Linked DNA regions of Homo sapiens: regions 1 and 3 are each linked to region 2. Evidence: promoter capture Hi-C in 16 types of primary human blood cells and fetal thymus (Javierre and others, 2016). All regions are on one chromosome and are shown on one strand. Each heading gives the region's core, a stretch centred on a gene start or on the middle of the fragment in contact. The rest is flanking DNA. Distances are from core to core; before and after follow the strand shown.

The links. The method cuts DNA at HindIII sites, captures the fragments that hold promoters and counts their contacts. A CHiCAGO score of 5 or more calls a contact.
Region 1: a contact is called between a fragment that was not itself captured here and the fragment with the promoter of KCNC1 in region 2, in 2 of 17 cell types (megakaryocytes and M2 macrophages). The highest score is 6.4, in megakaryocytes.
Region 3: a fragment that was not itself captured here is called in contact with the fragment with the promoter of KCNC1 in region 2 in 1 of 17 cell types (fetal thymus); the score reaches 9.4 in fetal thymus.

What each region holds. Positions count from the first base shown.
Region 1 is chr11:17,940,219-17,943,605 of GRCh38, forward strand. All of the region lies in intron 9 of SERGEF (secretion regulating guanine nucleotide exchange factor), which reads right to left. Among named protein-coding and RNA genes, the nearest start is that of SERGEF, 71 kb to the right of the region's middle. The HindIII fragment of the contact is 1,909 bases long and covers 797-2,705 here.
Region 2 is chr11:17,732,639-17,736,030 of GRCh38, forward strand. It overlaps KCNC1 (potassium voltage-gated channel subfamily C member 1), which reads left to right and starts at 2,143. Exons shown (of 4, transcript NM_001112741.2): 1 at 2,143-3,392. The coding sequence starts at 3,365. RefSeq lists a silencer at 1,983-2,082. The HindIII fragment of the contact is 3,804 bases long and covers 1-2,916 here.
Region 3 is chr11:17,903,305-17,906,995 of GRCh38, forward strand. The region is part of intron 9 of SERGEF (secretion regulating guanine nucleotide exchange factor); the gene reads right to left. Among named protein-coding and RNA genes, the nearest start is that of SERGEF, 110 kb to the right of the region's middle. The HindIII fragment of the contact is 2,401 bases long and covers 354-2,754 here.

The sequences.
Region 1 (3,387 bases), core at 501-3,000, 210 kb after region 2:
CAAGCCACCTTGCACTCTAAACATTCCTCTCCTTGTGGGCAAGACATCAATATCCCAGGATGCTAACAAGGCCATCTGGGATAGAGGAAAAGACGGTGCATGGTGAGTCAAGATTATCTGGGTTGAAGGCCCTGCTCAGCTATGCAGCATACTTAGCCTCTTTGAGTTCCAGTGACCGCATCCCCCACCACCGCCCACCCAACTGTAAAACAGAGACAATAACATGTACATAACTTATTATTACTAATGGCAGAAATAAACAAGACAGTGTACATGTAGAATGCTAGGTAAGGAAGCCCTCAATGTCAGTTTCCCATGCTCTGCCCAAACCCACACACAACCATTTCTTTGAAAAATGGTGATCAGTCTTTTTTTCTCTCTCTCTCACTCTGTTGTCCAGGCTGGAGTGCAGTGGTATGATCATCGCTCACTGCAGCCTTTAACTCCCAGGCTCAAGAGATCCTCCTGCCTCAGCTTCCCGAGTAGCTGAGACCACGGGGACACGCCACCATGACCGGCTTGATGATCAGTCTTACGGCCCCTTTCTAGTGTTCCTTCAGTCTTACACTGGAGAAAGTAAGTGCAAAGGCTGAGATATGAACCACCGCCCAAGGTCAGACCACCCACTGCTCAAGGCAGGCTCCGAGTCACTGTACTTCTGCTGAATTGTGGCCAAAAGCATTACAAATAAGTTTTCTGTTTCCTCACAATTTGGTTTCTCCACCAATATTTATTATAAACATTTTTAAACACACAGAAAAGCTTAAACATACAGAAAAGCTTAAACATACAGAAAAGCTTAAATAATTGTACAATGAACACTCATATTCCTACTACCTAGATTCTATAGTTAACATTTTTCTGTATTTGCTTTAATCACAAATCTAGCCATCCCTCTCTCTATTCACCAATCTTTTTAAATGTATTTTAAAATAAGTTGTAGATACAAGTGTCCTTCACATATGCTGATGAGTCTTTCCTCCAATTTTTAAAATTGTGGCAAATATACATAACATAAAATTTACCATCTTAACCATTTTTAAGTGTACAGTTCAGTGGTGTGAAGTATATTCGCATTGTTCTACAACCATCACCACCATCCATCTCCAGAACTCTTTTCATCTTGCAAAACTAAAACTCTGTACCCATCCCAGGATCATACAGTATCTGTCTTTTTGTGACTAGCTTATTTTGCTTATCTTAAGGTCCTCAAGGTTCATCTATGTTGTAGTATATGTCAGGATTCCCTTCCTTTTTAAGACGGAATGATATTCCATTGCATGTATATATCACATTTTGTTTATCGTCTATCCTTTGATGGACACTTGGGTTGCTTCCACTTTCTGGGTATTGTGAATAGTGGTGCTATGTACATGGGTATGCATATATATCTTCACGATTCTGCTTTCAACTCTTTTGGATATATATCCAGAAGTGGAATTACTGGATCATATGGTAATTCTATTTTTAATGCTCTGAGGAACTGTCATGCTGTTTTCCACAGCAGCTGCACTATTTTACGTTCCCACCAATAGTGCACAAGGGTTCCAATTTCTCTACATTCTGGCCATCACTTCTTATTTTCTGTTTGGTATAGTAGCCCTTCTAATAGGTGTTGGGTGGTATCTCATTGTGGTTTTGATTTGTACTTCTCTAATGATTAGGGATGTTGAGCAACTTTTCACATAATCTTGGTCATTTGTATATTATCTTTAGAGAAATGTCCATTCAAGTCCTTTGCCCTTTTTTAAAATTGGGCTGTTTGGTTTTTGTTGTTGCTGAGACCTTGTAGATTTATAGCAAATTTGAAGTCGGGTTAGGTGGATCTTGCAACTTCATTCTTCTTTTCCAAGATTACTTTGGATAGTCACAGCCTTTTATGTTTCCATATAAATGTCAGAATCAGCTTATCAACTTCAACCCCCAAAAAAGTCTCTTGAGATTTTGATTGGGGTTGCTTTAAATCTACAAGTCAACTTGGGAAGACCTGACAAGTTAACAACATTGAGTTTTCCAATCTGTGAGTGTGATATCTCTCTCCAATTAATTGGGTCTTTAACTTCTCCCAGCAGTGTTTTGTAGTTTTTATGTACAAGTCTTGCACGTTTTTGTTAAGTTTATACCTAAATATTTTGTACTTTTTGATATAACTGTAAAATTATAATCGTAAAAAAACTGCTTTTTAAAAATTTTCCAATTCTTTGATGCTGCTATATAAAAAAAAAGTTGATTTTTGAACGTTGATTTTGTACCTTGCTAAATTGCCATTTTGGTTCTAATAGTTATTTTATAGATTTGTTAGATTTTATAATTCAACAATCATATCATCTGTGAATAGAAACAGATTTACCTCTTCTTTTCTGATTTTAAGCCTTTTATTGCTTTTTCTTGCTTTATGGCACTGGCTAGAACCTCCATCCAGTATAATAGTGAATAAAAATGGTGAGAGGACATACTTGCCTCATTCTGATCTAAGAAGGAATACATTAAATTTTTCACCATCAATTATCATGTTAGTGCTTTATAAGTGCCCCTTATTAAACTGCAGAAATTCCCTTCCATTTCTAATTTGCTAAGTTTTTATCACAAATAAATGTTAAATTTTGTCAATGATTTTTCCACAACTGTTGAAGTTATTATTATGGTTTTTCTCCTTTATTTTGTTAATACATGATGAATTAAATTGATTTTCAAGTGAAAAAGCAAGCTTTCATTCCTGAGATAACATAGTTTGGTCATGATATATTATCCTTTTTAAATATTAATGGATTTGATTTGCTAATATTTTGTTGCAGATTTTTGTGTTTATGTTCATAAGGGATACTAATCAATAATTTTCTTTTTTGTAATGTCTTTGGTATCAGAATTATGCTGACTTCATAAATTTGGAAGTGTCCCCTCCTTTATTTTCTGAGTTTGTGTAAAAATAGTACTATTTCCTTACTTAAATATCTGATAAAGTTTATTAGAGAAACCACCTAGGCCTAAAGAGTTCTTTGTGGAAAAGTTTTTGATAATAAATTGATTTCTTTACTAGACATACAGATATTCTGATTTTCTATTTCAATTTCCTCTTGTGTTTTTGTACACTGTAGTTTTTCAAAAATTAATCCATTTTATCTAAGTTGCTGAATTTATAGGCATAAAGTTATTTGTAATATTTCCTTAGTCTCCTTTAATGTCTACATAATCTGTAGTGACATACCTACTTTCATTTCTAATATTTGCATTTTGTGACCTTGTTTTTCCTGATAGTCCAGGTAGGGCTTTATCAATTCTGTTGATATTTTCAAAGAATTGCTTTTGAACTTTTATTTTTCTCTCCTTTCTATTTCATTAACTTCTGTTCTTTCCTTTATTATTTTCTTCTTTCTATTTACTTCAGGT
Region 2 (3,392 bases), core at 893-3,392:
AACAAGAAGCCCTGGAGGAGCTGATGGTCCTTTTATGGAGATCAGATGAGCTATGGAGAAGATCAGGAGCCATACTCTGATCCCGTGTGGTTCTGCAGGTGAAGAGAGAGGTGAAGTCCTGGAACCCTATGGCTAGTAGAATCCCAGAAGATTCTTGGGTGAGAAGAGGGGCTGGACATCTGGGTAGAAAGAAAGGAAGGTTTGGAGAGGCTGCTTTCTTGTCTCTCCCCATCTTGATTTCTCCCAGCTGTGTGTGTGTGTGTGTGTGTGTGTGTGTGTGTGTGTGTGTGTGTGTGTATGTGTCTGCCTCTGTGTCCACCTTTTTCTCTTCCTTCTGGATTCTCCATTTCTATTTCATCTTCTACCAATGTTGGGACAGAATTTCCTGAGAACCCATGTCCCGGGGATCTGAATATGGGCCAGGATGGGCCACACCAGGCCGGGCCACACCAGGCCAGGCTTCCTTGTGGTTAGGAGATGGGGACTCACACTGGTCAGGGTGAAAGGGACACTCAAAATCACTCTCATCCCTGCATTACTCTGAGATTGAAGGGGAAACAGCTCCTATTTAGAGGAATCACACAGATCAATATCTGGAGGGAGGAGGTGCCATGCAGGCCCCAAAATCCAACCCTCTCTTTGTCTCTGCCCAACTCTGCCCATTTCTGACTTAATTTAGCCTCTCTGTCTCTCCCCTTGTCCTATTCCCATCTGTCAATCCTTGCCCTGCCCCTCTCCACCCCTTCAAGCCTTTTACCCACCACACACAGATTTTCCTGTGGCTAGATTGGGATTCCCCTGGCCAAGTAAGGAGAGCGATGTCTGTGGCACAGCTTTGTCCCCAGGCTCACAACGGCATCTGTGGGTCAGGGTAGAGGGACAGCTGTCTGCACAGTTAGAAAGTGCCAGCAGTAATAAAAGCCTCATATCTTCTTAATTAAATCGCCCTTTGCCCAGGCATCCTGTGTTCGATTGGGTTGAGCTGGGATCAATAAGCCTCTTTCCCACCCCAGCCACCCCTGGAGACGGGCCTGACCTCCCCAGTCCTGCCTAGGCCCACCTGGCCACCTCCCCAGAAGGCTGGGAGCTTCTCAAGGCCAGAGGCTGGGTCAGATTCATCTCTTGTGTCCTTGTGCCTGGGACGGATCCTGAAACAAGTAAGGAGTAAAGGAGTGATTGCTTTACTGAGTAAACCAAGGCACTAGCAGCAGGCATGGGCCAGGAAGGCTTTGAGGTTCAAACTGGAACTCCCACCCCCAGGACCAACTGTGAAGATGGAGGAATCACAGCAAGCAGCAGCTCCCACCCAGCTCCCAGACATAACACCAGCTTATCACCCAGGGCAGTTGAAGCCCTAGGAAGTGCGGGGTGGGGGTGTCAGTGCTCAGGGAAACTACGAGCAGTTGCTGCTTCTGACCTCTGAGGGCAGAAGGTCCTTTTCATAAGGGGTCTCCACCTAGGGATCCAGGGTTAGTGTGGGAGAGTCCGTGAGCTTGGATGGATGTGGCACTCATGGGAGACTCCCTCTGTCTGAAGCTATAAAGGGCCCAGGGTCAGTAAGGAGTCCAAAGGGGTTAATAGGGGTCCAGGATTGATTGTTAGTGGAGGGCGTAGAGGATAACGTGGTGTGTGTGTGTGTGTGTGTGTGTTGGGGTTCATGCAAGACATTACCCATGGAAGGAACATGGGGCCTCCAGGTTCCGCGAGAAGGGTCGGTATTAAAGGATTCCTTGGAGCGGTCAGCACTGGTCCGGGCCAGGGTGTCTCTGATGACAAAACTCCGGGAGAGCTTTGTCTCACCAGGGATCAGATGGTCCCTGGTTTGGAAGGCAAGGGGAGGGTGCCAACGCCCTTCTCACCTCAGTCTGACCCGGGGGCGCGGGCCCAGACGTCTCTCGGAGCCCCCGCCCCTGGAGTGGCGTTCCCCGAGGGCGGACCGTGGGCGGGTCCCCCGGGAGCAGCAGGAGCCGCGCGGGGCGGGCGCCCCCAGCGCCGAGGTTGAGGGAGGCCGGGCTCGGTGCGGGGCTGGGAGGGGGGCGCGGAATCAGGGCTTTTTAGGACCCAGCGCGGCGCCTTCCTCCGGGGGCGAGTGCGGCTGCGCGCGCCGTGTGCCCGTGTCCGGAGAGCGGCGGGCTGGACGCGGACCGCGCGAACGAGCAGGCGACGGGCGAGCAGCAAGCGGAGCAGCAGCCCGGGCGGCAGCAGCGTCGCGGCGGCGGCGGCAGCGGCCGCTCCGCGCCTCGCCTCACCGGCCTCGCTGGCCTCACCTCGCCGCGCCCGGACCCGCCACCCCCGCCTCCCCGCCCGACCTCCGCAGCCCCCGTCTCGGCCGGCAGCGCCCACCGCCTGCCCGAAGCGAGGAGCGGAGTGCGGGGCGCAGAGGCACCGGAGCCAGTGCCCGCCGGCCCCGCAAATCAAACCCAGCCAGGAGAACCCCCGCCTGGCCCCGTGCAGCTCCGCGACCGCCGGGAGCTGTCCCTTCAGCACCGCCGCGGGAGCCCAAGTCCGAGCGCAGCCCAGCGGAACCCCAGCTCGAGCCCGGGCTCACGGAGAGCAGCGCTCGGCGTTAGCCGCACGAGCAACACCCCGGGTGCCCCTGCCCAGGGGGCCCGCCATCTCCTCCAGGAGGCGGGGAGAAGGAACGAGGAGGGCGGGCGGGCAGGCGGGCCCGCCGCCGGGGGGAGCAGGCAGCCAAGCAAGGAGAGAGGGAGGGGGCCGGAGCCCGCCCTGCGTCCCGAGCTGCAGCCCGGCCACGCAGGGAGGAAGGCAGGCGGCATCCATCTCCCCCGCGCCGAGAGCGCGCCGCGGCGACCACCTCACAGAGGAGCGCGAATTTCCCGGCCCTGTCTCCTCCCCTCCCCCTCCTGGGGGCTGGCCTCTAGTCCGGCCCCGGGAGCGGCTGACCTTTCCCCCAAAAGCTTTGTGCCGATTTCTCCATTTTCCCGCGGAGATGGGGACGGGAGCCCGGCCCCCCAACCCATTTTCCCCACCTCCCGGGGCTCGCTGCTGAGCCCGCCCCCCTCCCTCTTTCCCCCTCACTCCCTCCCTCCCTCCCTTTCTCCCTCCCTTTCTCCCTCCCTTCTTTCCTCCTCTGCCTCCTCCGCTGCCGGACCAGCTCCCTCCCACATCTGGCTCCTAGAGACCCCTGGGATCCCGCGCACATTCCCCTGGACCGGCACCCGACAAAGCGCCCGGAGAGGCTTGGCTCGCTCGTTGGGGTGGCCAGAGCCGCAGGCCTCTGTTCCCCCCGACGGCTGGGGGGAGGGGGGAAGAGGGCGCGCGCCCCCCTCCCCGGCGCCAACTCCCCCTGGCGGCCGCTCCCATGGGTGTCGCTGGGCCGCGCCATGCCTAAGGGGGCGCCGCGATGGGCCAAGGGGACGAGAGCGAGCGCA
Region 3 (3,691 bases), core at 304-2,803, 170 kb after region 2:
GAGTTGAGAGTGGGGGCAGAAACTCCAACTGGCAGGTCCAGTCACAAGAAGATACAGCTAGAATACTAAAGCTGGCCTGGGGACAGAAGATAATTAATCTTCAAGGCAATAAAAATATTTAATTCATTCATCTGAGAGAAATGACAAGAAAGAAGATAGATATTTCCTTTTTCCCTCCCTGTTCTGACAAGGTTACCCTAGATAGATTGTAGAATGTTTAATGAACATTTAGTATAAAAGCCTGAGATGCAAACAAGTAAATGAGGAGAGGCCTGGGCAGCAAGCAATGGAAGCTGACATTGTAGAGGCTGCAACCAGGACAGACATTTCCAGAGCAGAGCTTTGGGAAGAGAAGCTTATTTGCAATTGTTCAGGTGGCAGCAAAAGTTAAAACACGGGGAGAGATATAAAAGAAATTCCAAAGGTAAAAATCACAGGATTTGATCATTGAACAGATAAATATGGAAGGAAGGAAGAGGCACACTGAAGCTGCCTGAGCTTTCTAACCATGATCAGAACTGAGGAGTCATTAATGTAGGGAAGAGGACAGCCGTGGAGAAAAAGGGAAAGGGGAGTCTCCACTTCCGTAGGTCATCTTAAGTGACAAGGTAACAGCCATCAACTATGAACACTATAATCCCTCCTTCACCTTGGCCGTGTAGGCCTTGCAGGCATCACCACAAGTGCCAGATCAGTTAGCCCACAACTGCTCTGTGTGCCTAGAACAGAGGAGTAGGTATCTAGGGCCAGGGGAGTATATGCAGGGAAGTGTTCAGGGATTGGGATAGTAGCAAAGCCGAGGGAAGAGGAGAAAATGCAGCCCACTGCTTTAGACCCTGTGTTGATTTTGTATCAGAGGGCTAATGAGGGCTCCAAGAAACAGAAAAGCATTTCCAAGGCTGGAAGTAGGAACATTGGCCACAGCCTGAACCAGTGAAGCAGAAGTGAAGTCCTCAAGGAAAAGAGTGGGGGTTCTCCAAGGTACCCTTTGCAGCAGCTAAAAGTGAATGGTTGAGGACTAAAGTCTACTCTTAAGATAAATGTCCATGACCAAAGAGGCTGGGATCCTGGAAAGACTACCCAGCCAGCCTCCACCATGCCAGACTGAGCCCCGCTGGGGCATTCGACTATAGCCACAGGCCCTGCCTTTCAATTCCTTTAATGTAACTGTTCTAGGAAGAGAGGTGACTCTTGATAAACTTCAAATTATAATCTCTCTCCAGCTTTACTCTGTCTATTCAAACCATTTCTATGAACTGTTAGGTGACTCTAGTGACAAGTCCTAGTTTAAGAATAAATGGAAATTTATATGACTATGTCAGCCTCTGAGTAGAAACCTCCCTAGGTATCAAGAAGCATTTCTTCTTTCCTTCTCCCTCTTTCTTTATTTTAGTAAATACCAACTAGATGCAAGGCCTACCAGTCTGCAAACAGATATAACCTTCCAAGACCAAGGAAATTATTTAGAGGCATTTAAAACCACCTTCTCTGACCCAAAACACAATGCAATGCAGTGCAAGACAGAAACTTCTGCTTGAGAACTGGATCAGTCCTGGATGCCTGATTCCCTGGGTCATCAAAGCCTAATTCTCACAGGCAGAAGTTTCACCTATCCTAATGGGTTCATCTGTTTTTCCAACTTTGCTCAACCCAGAGACTACTTGACATCTGAAATATCAACTGTCTTCCAAAACATGTTGGTCTTGAAATTGGCCCTGAAAGATCCTACACAAATACTTCATTTGATTAGCAAACTTTAGTACATCTATAAGAATATGGGTACACATTTCTGCATTTCAGTTGTAACATCAATACTTGGTCCAAAGACAACATTCCTCATACTGGAGACTATCCAAAATATCCAGGAAAATTTATTAGGGAGATTGCTTTTATTCCACCCTCTGTTTCTCTTCAAAAGCGAAAGAGATGCTGTACAGAATTTAAATGTTCTAACAAACATTGTCTTTAAAGCAAATTTCAATAAATTGAAGTGTAATTTATTGAAACAATTTTTAGTCACAATGAGCCCAGTTTTCTCACAGAATAGCATAAAAGTGCAATGGCCTGGGTTCTTGACACACTCAGCTTTTCTGACTGTGAGAATCTGAGCCCTTGCTCTGAGGCAAGACCCATTCCTACCAAGCATTCTTGGGGAGGCACCAGCCTTGCTGAACAACCAGCACTGGCTGAACCAGGCTTAGTCTGAGGAGGAAGGATGCAGTTATCTGGCAGAGATTGGAGTGACCTTGGAATCCAAAGTCAGCAGGACCCAGGGCTCCTTCTCTAATGGGTAATTTATAAGTGGAGACCATTGGGTCTCTCAGAGCTCACATGACAGGAGTCAGAGGTGACAGGAGTGAAACCCAGAAAGAAGAAGTGAATGTTTTCAGAGACCCATTAGAAATGAGGACAAGTGCACAAATGGGAACTGTGTGGTTGTAACAGCACTAGACTGGCCTATGCTCTGGTCCTTTCCTCTCTGTCCCTTAGTCTGCCCATCTCTAAAATAAGGAGCTTGAAAAATAAATAAATAAATAAATAAAATAAGGAGCTTGGATGAGCAGATCCTTAGGGTCTCAGTCAGCCTCGAAATTCTGAAATAGATTCCAACCCCAGATTGCTGAGGAGGTCTCCAGCCTTAACAAGGCAGTCCTGAGACCAGCATGGGAGGCCACTAGCATCTTCCCTTCATTTCTTCCTGTCTTGACCCAATTCATCACTCAAAACCTAGTTTGAATGCCACTGCCTTCAAGAAGCTTCCCCTGACCCTTCTGGCATAACCACTCATTCCTTCTCTAGGAGCTCCTAATTTGTGTTGGTGCTCAGCACTGACACTGTCAGAGGTGGATGCTACATAGTTGGAGCAGGGCACGGGGAGGGGTGGGCTGATAAGGAAGGGAATACAGGAGACAGGCAAACTGAAACATTACCAACCCTTTCCTCATTACCGTGCAGAACTCTCAAACCCAGTTTCAGCCTCCTGACAAAACCAGCTCTGCAAAGCCAAAAGACTTGATCCATGGTTTAGAATACCAGTGGCTAACGAAGTTTCGGTCTAAACCAGTCTCTGTCTTTTTTATTGAGAAAAAGCCATTCTTGAGCTGCGAGATATAAAAGCTTTGTGGTCTTTAGAGAAACAGAAGGCAAAATGGCCACAGGAACAATCACCTGCAAAGGGGGTTGGTGGGGTGGGGGTTGCAGCACAGAGCTAAGTGGGGGTGGGGCGCTTGGTGGCTCAGGCTCTAGGAGACAGTGCCATGCTGTGGCCACCTGCCGCCTCTGCGCCGCCTTCTGCAGCCTCTGCAGGTACAGGAGGCCTGTTTCCTGACCCAGTTTTCTCCCCAATCTCTATTTAGCTGTTCGCTAGTGATGCTCCTGGCATGCCAATCAGATACTGCAGCCGGCAGTGCAGTTTGTTACAACAAATTCACAGTTCCTAGTAAATTCAGTGGAAAAGTACTGTGTCAAGCAGCCTAATTAAACTGACGTAATTTCCACAGCCATACACTTCTATCAAATAAGAAAAAAAAAAAAAAAACCTCAGGGTAAAAAGAAAGAAATCATGTCTTTCGATCTTATGAAACTGAATGTGGTTGTAATATATTTAAAGAATGATTCTGCTCAGTGTCCTTGGAGCCACAGTTGTCCAAGTCTTGGGCCCTAGATGAGACTTTGGACTGTGCTGGGAAGA